Linked DNA regions of Homo sapiens: region 1 is linked to region 2. The links are contacts of gene promoters, found by promoter capture Hi-C in human tissues and cell types (Jung and others, 2019). All regions are on one chromosome and are shown on one strand. Each heading gives the region's core, a stretch centred on a gene start or on the middle of the fragment in contact. The rest is flanking DNA. Distances are from core to core; before and after follow the strand shown.

Region 1 (4,331 bases), core at 424-2,923, 390 kb after region 2:
ATTAAGTCCTTTTTGAAAAGCTAAATTTGATAGAAAATTATATTAATATCATTTTAAAAGCAAATACTTACATTTTGTGAGATATTTTATTGAAAAACCCCCAGTCTTTGATGCCTAACTAGAGACATTATTTCCTATACCTTACAGCACTCATTTTCAATTTATTTTAGGAAACTGAACAGCAGTTCAGTTTCTGAACTGGTCTATCTTATGAAAGCAAAAGAGAGATAATAGTTTGGTGAATTCATTCGCTTGAAGTAGGGTCAGCAACTGAAAGAATTTCTGCTTGGATGGTGGGAACGTCGTCTGTAACAATGATGGTGGTGGTGGTAGCTGGTATTTACAGAATGCTTACTCTGTGCCAGGCACTATTCTAAACACTTTACCTATATTAAGTCGTTTGATCCTCACCATATCTTATGAGATTGTTTTCTTATTACTAACATTTTCTAATGAAGAAACTGACCATACAGAGAGGTGAAGGTAACTTGCTGAGTTCCTTTGGCTAGTGATTGGTGAGCTGGGATTCAAATGCAGTTGTTGGTCTTTAGAACCAGTACTTATTACTGTACTACCGCACTGCTTTGCCACAGAGACTAGGGATGAAACAGGGGCTGCTGGAAAAAGAGAAGCAGGCAAGGATAGTGGAAGGAGCTACTATATCCCTCTTGGAGCTGAAGAACCAGTCAGGTAGGCATCCCAGGGTTCATCTGTCACTAGATATGGACCTGTGCCCATGGCTTTGCCAGCCCTGTGTGTGCTGCAGAACTGTTGCTCCACATTCCCTCATTCCTGGCAGGACACTTGCTTTCATATCCAGAGGTCAACCACCTTTCCTCGTCCTTTCACCTGTCCTATCTTGTTTCCTCCATTCCCTTGCACTCCTTTTCTCCCAAGTGCATTTGAACTTTACCTGGACACCTCTCACCATTAGTGTATAGTGTAAATTATCATGTTGGCATAATGTGAATGTTTAGGCCTCTCTGTTATTCATGTAATAGTTTATTTTCATGGGAAGACCTGCAAGGCTACCTTGGTCAGTATTCCCTCATTGTGCCATGAAGTTTGGATATAAGTGATTTGCTCACATTCCTTTTGTTTGTGGTGATAGTTTCTTTGTTACTATCAAGTGACAGTCCTCGGATGATGAAGGTGCTTTGTGTGATCCCTAATGCTGGCATCATAAGTGATTTCCACTTGCCTTCTAGAGGACAGTGTGTTGTAAAGCTTGCCGTCCTTGGCTGCTATAGCGTGAGGGTTTCATGAGCCTTTAGGGGCTCCTAGAGACTGGGTGGTTTTGGTGCCAGGCTGAGCATGATTGGAGCTAGAGACTGCTGCTTCACAGGCAAGTTAAGCCTCATTGTACCTACTATGCAGTTTCATGGGGAGGATTCAGTGAAATGTGAGTTCGGGGCCTGTTGCAAGAGGCATTTTAAAAATGGCAATTGTACTGTTGTTCATTATTATTATTATTTTTGAGATGGAGTCTCGCTTTGTCACCCAGGTTGGAGTGCAATGGCGCCATCTCGGCTCATTGCAACCTCCGCCTCCTGGGTTCAAGCAAGTCTCCTGCCTCAGTCTCCTGAGTAGCTGGGATTACAGGCGCCCGCCTCCACGCCTGGCTAATTTTTGTATTTTTAGTAGAGACGGGGTTTCACCATATTGGTCAGGCAAGTCTTGAGCTCCTGACCTCATGATCCACCTGTCTCGGCCTCCCAAAGTGCTGGGATTACAGGCGTGAGCCACCGCACCCGGCCTTGTTCATTATTATTTCTTCATTCCAGTGGAATAATTTTTCTGACCTGTCTACCTGGAACAATCTCTGTTCACTCTGAAATCCCTGTTTATTAAATTTCGCTTAAAGGAGTTGTAATTCACAGAAGGCAGAAGGATAATAGGAGACTGGGTTACTAAAGACAAATTTTACTATTTTTATACATGTGTCTAGATCCAGCCTTAGAGTATATACTTTGACTTTAAGCAAAATTCAAACAAATAGAACTAAACCTGTATCTTTTTCTTTATTTTCTTTTAGGAAAAAGAAGCAACTAACAAAACACTGTGATAATAAGGATTATTCAGTATGCAGTTTGCAGGGTATGTCTTGGAGACAGTACAAATTCACCTTTACTTTATATAAGCCACATCTTAACATTGGGCATTGATGTTCAGAATGACTTTTGGGAGCTGCAAGATCCTCAGAGATCAAAAAAAATGATTTAGTTACTTTGTACTCTAACTCAAAATGTACTTAATAGTAGGATTAGACAGTAGACTAGTGTTTAAAAAGATGTTCAGGAACAAGGATATTTTTCGTCTAAACTTTCAGTTAATCATTGTGTCCTGTTCTTAGCTATACAATTTAATTGTGGTTTCATAGACTATGGAAAAGGGGTGCTCATATAAAAAGTAAATTATTTGGTAGTAAGAGTGATTGTTTCACTATAGGGTACTCATTGTGAAGATACCAATTAGATTATTTCTATTTAATCTATAGCTTGCTATAGATTAAAAATCATTTCACTGTGCCCTCTTGCTGGCAAAGGTTTGGGAAGAGAAACATTAGGGTTTAATAGTACTTATCTCTAGGTGTCTGAGGCTCTGAAAAAAAAGCTTTTTCATTTATTTTTGTAATAAAACTTTTATTTTCAAAAATCAGATTCATTTATAAAATCTGATTTATATGTCACTTTCCAGGAACACATCTAAACTAAAATGATAGATGAAAAGAACAAAGTTATATAACTTGGGGGCAGCCTGAAGGAATGTGTTTTGAAAGCTAAAGTGGCATTTGCAAGCTTATGCAATAGCAACAGACTTGGGTGGAATTTTAAGCATAATTATTGCCCTTGTAATTAATTGAAGTTAAATATTTAAAGATAGTTTCCTGCCCCCCCCCCAGAGTTTTTATATTTGAAAATTAAATATACCCAAATTAAAATTTCTTTTGGGGAACTGCTGTCCAAATAAAGCAAGGTCTTTCAATTTGGATTTTCCTGTTAATCCTGTCATTAAAGTTATTAGTTCAGATGACAGGGATAATATACATATGGAAGAAATTTGCTTCCCCCCACACACACCTAGGCATTGTATCAGTTTCTTATTTAAAAATCTTAATAGTTTAAAAATCTTAATAGCAGGATTAATAGTTTTGGTTCTGAAATCAGTTTGCAGACACAGCGTAGCATAGTGTTTTAAAGCACGGACTTTGGTGTCAGACAGCCGTGGGTTTCAGTCCCAGCTCTTTTACACACTGGCCATTTGGCCTAGGCCAAGTTACTGTGCCTCAAAAGGGGGTTAATAATTCCTGTCTTTGAGGGGAATTGTGAGGATTGAATGAGGATAATGTGAAGTATTTGGTATGTGACTGGTGTGTAATACTCATTCAGTAAATGGTAGTGCTATTTATTATTACAATAATTACTAAAGTGCAAAAAATATATTAGTAAACATATTAACATTGACTTTTTGAACTTATAATTTAACATACATAAATTTTTTGAGGGGGTTCTAGGTATGCAATTCAGATCATTTCTGAAGTGGTATAAATATAAAAGTGACTTTATGCTTCTTTTATAGTTGGTATTTTAACTCTAAAAATAATATTATCCTAAATGGGGCATTGATTAGAGTGGCCAAATGTTTATAAACAATGTGGGCTTTGAAATGTATTAATTAGGTGTGAATCCTAGGTTTTGTAGTTAATGTCACTTGTACCTAGAGCAGCCTATTGCCTTAGCTATAAAAATGAGACCAGTGCTGACTGGCCAGGCACGGTGGCTCCAGCCTGTAATCCTTGTACTTTGGGAGGCCAAGGCAGGAGGATTGCATGAGGCCAAGAGTTCAAGACCAGCCTGAGCAACATAGCAAGACCCTGTCTCTAATAAAAATAAATAGCAGTTTTTAAAAATTAAAAAAAAACTTACCTATTATATGTCAAATTTCGTTTTTTGGGATATTTTTATCTAAGTGGACTCAATAATTAATGCTCTTAATATGTAACTGAAAATGTGAAACTGTATATTGAGAGCAGTAGAAAAAGCTTCGTCAAAGGGATAGATACTGACTAATGGGAGAGAGCTAGCCTTAGGAGGTTGCTATATTCCTTGTTGGATTTTGTTACTCAGTTCTATTAAATGTTGGTCAGAACAAAAGTGAGGGTTCAGCCTGTGAGATATAAAGTTGCATCTTGTTTAATTTTATACACGTTTGTTTTTCTGAGTCATTGTCATTTATAAATAGGAACCTATTTCTATTCATTTATTGTAAAAGTTGAAATTTTTAAGTACAGTACGAAATGTGGTTCTTAAAAACCAAATGATTTTTAAGAC
Region 2 (4,296 bases), core at 1,179-3,678:
TCTGAGGTCTCTTTTGCTCTGTGACTTTTCACAGGTATGGTATCTGTAAGTGCTTAGTACCTGGGGAGCTATTCAGGCATCAGAGCATCTGAGCCTGTGGACTTGAATTCCATGTTTATCTTCCTACCTTATTCACCCCGAGACATTGAATATACAAATGGGCAATGGCCATACTACATAGAAAAACAGGACTGTGTCACACAATCTGTAGCAACCAGTCCAGGAAGCCAACCCATTTTCTATGGTAACCACTCTAGGAAGTCAAACCACTAAATCACTATCTGTGGCAACCAGTCCACTAATCAAAACAATAACCCTGGTAGCAATTGACCCCAAACAGCTGGGATTTGATCTCTTCCTTCCTTCCTCCCTCCCTCCCTCCCCTCCTTCCTTCCTTCCCTCCTTCCTTCCTTCCTCCCTCCCTTTTCCTTCCTTCCTTCTTCCCTTCTCCTTCCTTCCTCTCTCCCTCCCTTCCCTCCTTCCTTCCCTCCTTCCTTCCTCCCTTCCTTTTCCTTCCTTCCTTCTTCCCTTCTCCTTCCTTCCTTTCTTTTTCTTTCTCTCTCTTTTTCTTTCTTTCTCTCTCTCTCTTTCCCTCCTTCCCTTCCTTCCTTCGTCTCTTCTTTCTTTCCCTCTCTCCCTCCCACTCTTTCTTTCTTTCCCTCCCTCCTTTCCTTCCTTCCTCTTTCCTTCTCTTCTCTTTTCTCTTCTTCTCTTTCTTCTTTCCAGGTTCTTGCTGGAGTGCAATGGTGCAATCACAGCTCACTGCAGCCTTGACTTCTCAGGCTCAAGTGATCCTCCCATCTCAGACTTCTGAGTAGCCAGGAGCTGGCTATTTTTCTTTATTTCTTTCTTTCTTTCTTTTTTTATTTTTGTAGAGATGGGGTAGCAATTTGATTAAAAACTATCAGATTCCCTACTTTTTCCCATACTACTTCCAACTTAGGACCAAACAGAGAAAGCCAAAAATTTCCCCCTACCAATTACATAAGATTCCCTGCTTCTAGTTAGCCCGCCTGTAGTTTCCCCATGCCAGCAACTTCCAATAAGGGAATACCTGAAGCCATTCCTTTTTTCCACTGTGAAGCTTTCCCCACTCTTCTGCCTGACTTTCAGTCTGCTGAATGCAAGTGATGAGGGCTGACTCTCTTGTCATATATAGCAAGCTCTGAATAATAGTCTTTGTTCTCATTTGAATAATCTTTATTTTCACACTTCTTAAAAAATTTAATTTCCTGGCATGTTGCATAATGTTAGGTAAGCCATTTTCTCTCTTTGGGCCTTACTTTCTTCAACTGAAAAACTGGTTCAACATTTATTCATTCTTTTATTCCGTAAGCCAAAAATAAAATTCAAAGCCCTCTGACCATATGAATGGATCTCTCCTCTTGGCTAAGGGCATTCCAAAGTTAACGTGAAAAACTGGTTCAGGCCATAATGGGAAGGAGGAGTTGGACATGGCTCATTATGCTCCCCTACCTTTTGAAATTCAGGACCAGCTGACCAGCATTAACATCAACACAGACCTTAAGACTGATAGAACAGCCTCTTTAAGTCTCACAGACTATCCGGTAGTGTGATAATGATGAGAAACATTTGCAGTCTATTCTCTGAAGCCTGCTACAGGCTCCATCTGCATGATAAAACTTTGGTCTCCACAAGCCCTTATCTTAACTGAGACATCCCTTTCTATTGATTCTAAGTCTTTATACAATAACTTAACTCTTTCAACCAATTGCCACTCAGAAAATCTTTGAATCCACCTATGTCCTGAAAGCCTCCTCTTCCAGTTGTCCCACCTTTCCATACCGAACCAACGTACATCTTACATGTATTAATTGATGTCTTATGTCTTCCTAAAATGTGTAAAACCAAGTTGTAGCCCGACCACGTTGGGCACATGTTCTCAGGATCTCCTGGGGCTGTGGCACGGGCCATGGTCACTCATATTTGGCTCAGGATAAATCCCTTCAAATATTTTACAGTTTGACTTTTCGTGGACAATTCTACAAATATTCCTTGGCAGTTAAAGAAATAACTCCCCAGGAGGTGCTAGACATCGGGCGCATGTTAGAGGCACAAAGATGAGAATGTTAAAAGACATAAAATACAGGTCTGCTCTGGGAATGCAAAAACTGGTAAAAGGAGAGATAAAAGAGCAGGTGCAGTCTAGTGAAGTACCCGCTACCTCCTATCAGCAAATATCTGTCCACCTAGGGTGCAGCGAGCTGGAGAGGAAGGGGTGGCCTAGAGCGCAGGGGAAGGATTCCTCCCCAGCCGCCTGCACCCCTACCCCGGTAGCGGTCCCTGGGATCGTCCGTGTCTCCAGGAGAACCGGACCGCTCTCCCCTCCCTCCCCGAGCGAGAAAGGAGGACCACAGAGATGCGGCGCCCTCCGCCGTCCTAGAGCAACCGGAGCGGCCCGAGCCCCGGCCTCCCGGATGCTGGGGCCTGGCGGGTGTGGAGCACGGGGAGTCGGGCGTGGGGCGGGCAGGGAGTGGAGTCGGGGTCTTACTCCGGTGGCTGCAGGGCGCAGGGTAGCCGTGTCAGGCCTGCCCAGGTGCAGAGCGCTCTTCCGCGACCCCAACAGCCTCTGGTCCGGTCTGGCGCGCCCTCGCTTTCCCAGAGGGCGACCTGGGCTATGGCGGCCGTGGCGCTGGCGAGCGGGACACGCCTCGGCCTTGTCCTCGAGCTGCTCCCGGGACAGCCCGCGCTGCCCCGGGCGCGCCGGGTGAGTGCGGGGCCGGAGCCTGGAAGCAGTCTTGGCCCTGCCCTGGGTTCTAGGCCCGGAGACGGGGTGGTGCGGCGGCTGGGAAATGGGGGTACAACCCAGAGTGAGGGGCCTCGAGGGACAGGCAGCACAGCGGAGTCGACACCCCTGGACCTGAGCCTCAAGGAGAGCAGACGTGCAGCGGCACGGGGTTGAGCCGACTGCTGGGGCAGAGCGCACAGAGTGCTGTCGGGGGCGATGAATGGCCAGAATTTCAGAGCTGCCTTTACAGAGCTGGTTATGTTTGAGCTGGGTATTAGGTTGAAAAGGAATTTGCAATGCAGGAGCAGGAAGGAAGAACTGGATATTCAGGCAAGAGTAGCCGCAGGTGCAAGGACACAGAACAGGGTGAGGAAAGAGTTTGGTTTCCCAATGCAATGGTGAGAGGATCGGAGATGAGAGTGGTGGTGGCTGATGATCCTGGCCAGGAAAGCTGGGTCTGTGAGTAGTGAATGGAATTGTCTGTAGTGCAGAGGAATGTGGACTCTATTAGGCAGACAAAGTTGAGCCAGCCAAAGCCTTGGAGCCCTGGAGTGCTGGATAAATAGCTGTGGAGACTTTCTAGTGCGCAAGGACTGAAGTGCAGTGGACCAGAATGGGCTCCTCCACAGTGTGGAGACTGAGACCCTGAAGGAGGCAGTGGCTGAGAATTACGGGAAGTCCCAACGGCTGGAGGTCAGCAGTATTTGTTTCTTAAGAGGATGAGAGAAAGAAGGTGCAGGAGCTGAGACTCCTAGAGATATAGAAAATGGGGACATGGAGATTGGGACGTGGGTAAGCAAGTGAGGTGGGATCTTTGTGAGAGTGTTGCGGGTGGTGGGGGTGCAGGGAGTAAAGTCACAACGAGGATCTGCCCTGTTGAGTACAGTGTTCAGAGCAACCTGAATGTTCTGAGGAGCCCTAGCTGCCTCTGTGGCTGGTGGCAGTGACTGGGGAGGACAAAGGAGGAAGAGTCCTATACAGGGGCAGCAGGGATGGCAGGAATGGGGACGGAAGGCAGTGTGGCATAACAGGCAAGAGCCAGAGTCAAACAGGCCTGGGTTCTGTCTCAGTTCTGGAACTTTGGGGGAAGTTAATCCCTCCGAGTCTCAGTTTCCTCTTCTAAAAAACGGATCTGATAGTAGGCTATGAGACATAACAAAGAATATATGTCAAGTGCTTGGCACAGGCTTAATAAATGATAGTTGTTATCAAGGGTGGGTGACCTCTGAAGGAGGACACATTGTGGAGAGAGGATGGGACCTAGAGCACAGATGTGGTTTGGGGTATAAGGATGAAACAAGAAAACTTTTGCAGACTCATGAAAAAGAGGAGAAAATGTTTGCTGAAATAAAGATGAAGAGACATGAGAAAATTGATGGCTGATGCCTTGTCTCTTTGTACATAGGAGGCAAAAATCTTCTGCTGATAGAGTTCCTGTAGACATTCAGAATCCAGAATCCCCACAGGCACCCCCACAGTACCTTTTGATGCCCTGTCTCCCCTTCCTCTTGGCCTGGTCCTGGGGTTGTCCTAGGGCATTTAAACAC

Evidence for each region. The method cuts DNA at HindIII sites, captures the fragments that hold promoters and counts their contacts. A contact is called where the count stands out against the background at its distance.
Region 1: a contact is called between a fragment that was not itself captured here and the fragment with the promoter of ZNF662 in region 2, in 1 of the 25 tissues and cell types used here (bladder).

Annotation. Positions count from the first base shown.
Region 1 is chr3:43,297,719-43,302,049 of GRCh38, forward strand. It overlaps SNRK (SNF related kinase), which reads left to right. Exons shown (of 7, transcript NM_017719.5): 2 at 2,036-2,097. Among named protein-coding and RNA genes, the nearest start is that of SNRK, 13 kb to the left of the region's middle. The HindIII fragment of the contact is 3,494 bases long and covers 1-3,420 here.
Region 2 is chr3:42,903,714-42,908,009 of GRCh38, forward strand. It overlaps ZNF662 (zinc finger protein 662), which reads left to right and starts at 2,429. Exons shown (of 5, transcript NM_207404.4): 1 at 2,429-2,455. The HindIII fragment of the contact is 13,922 bases long and covers 1-4,296 here.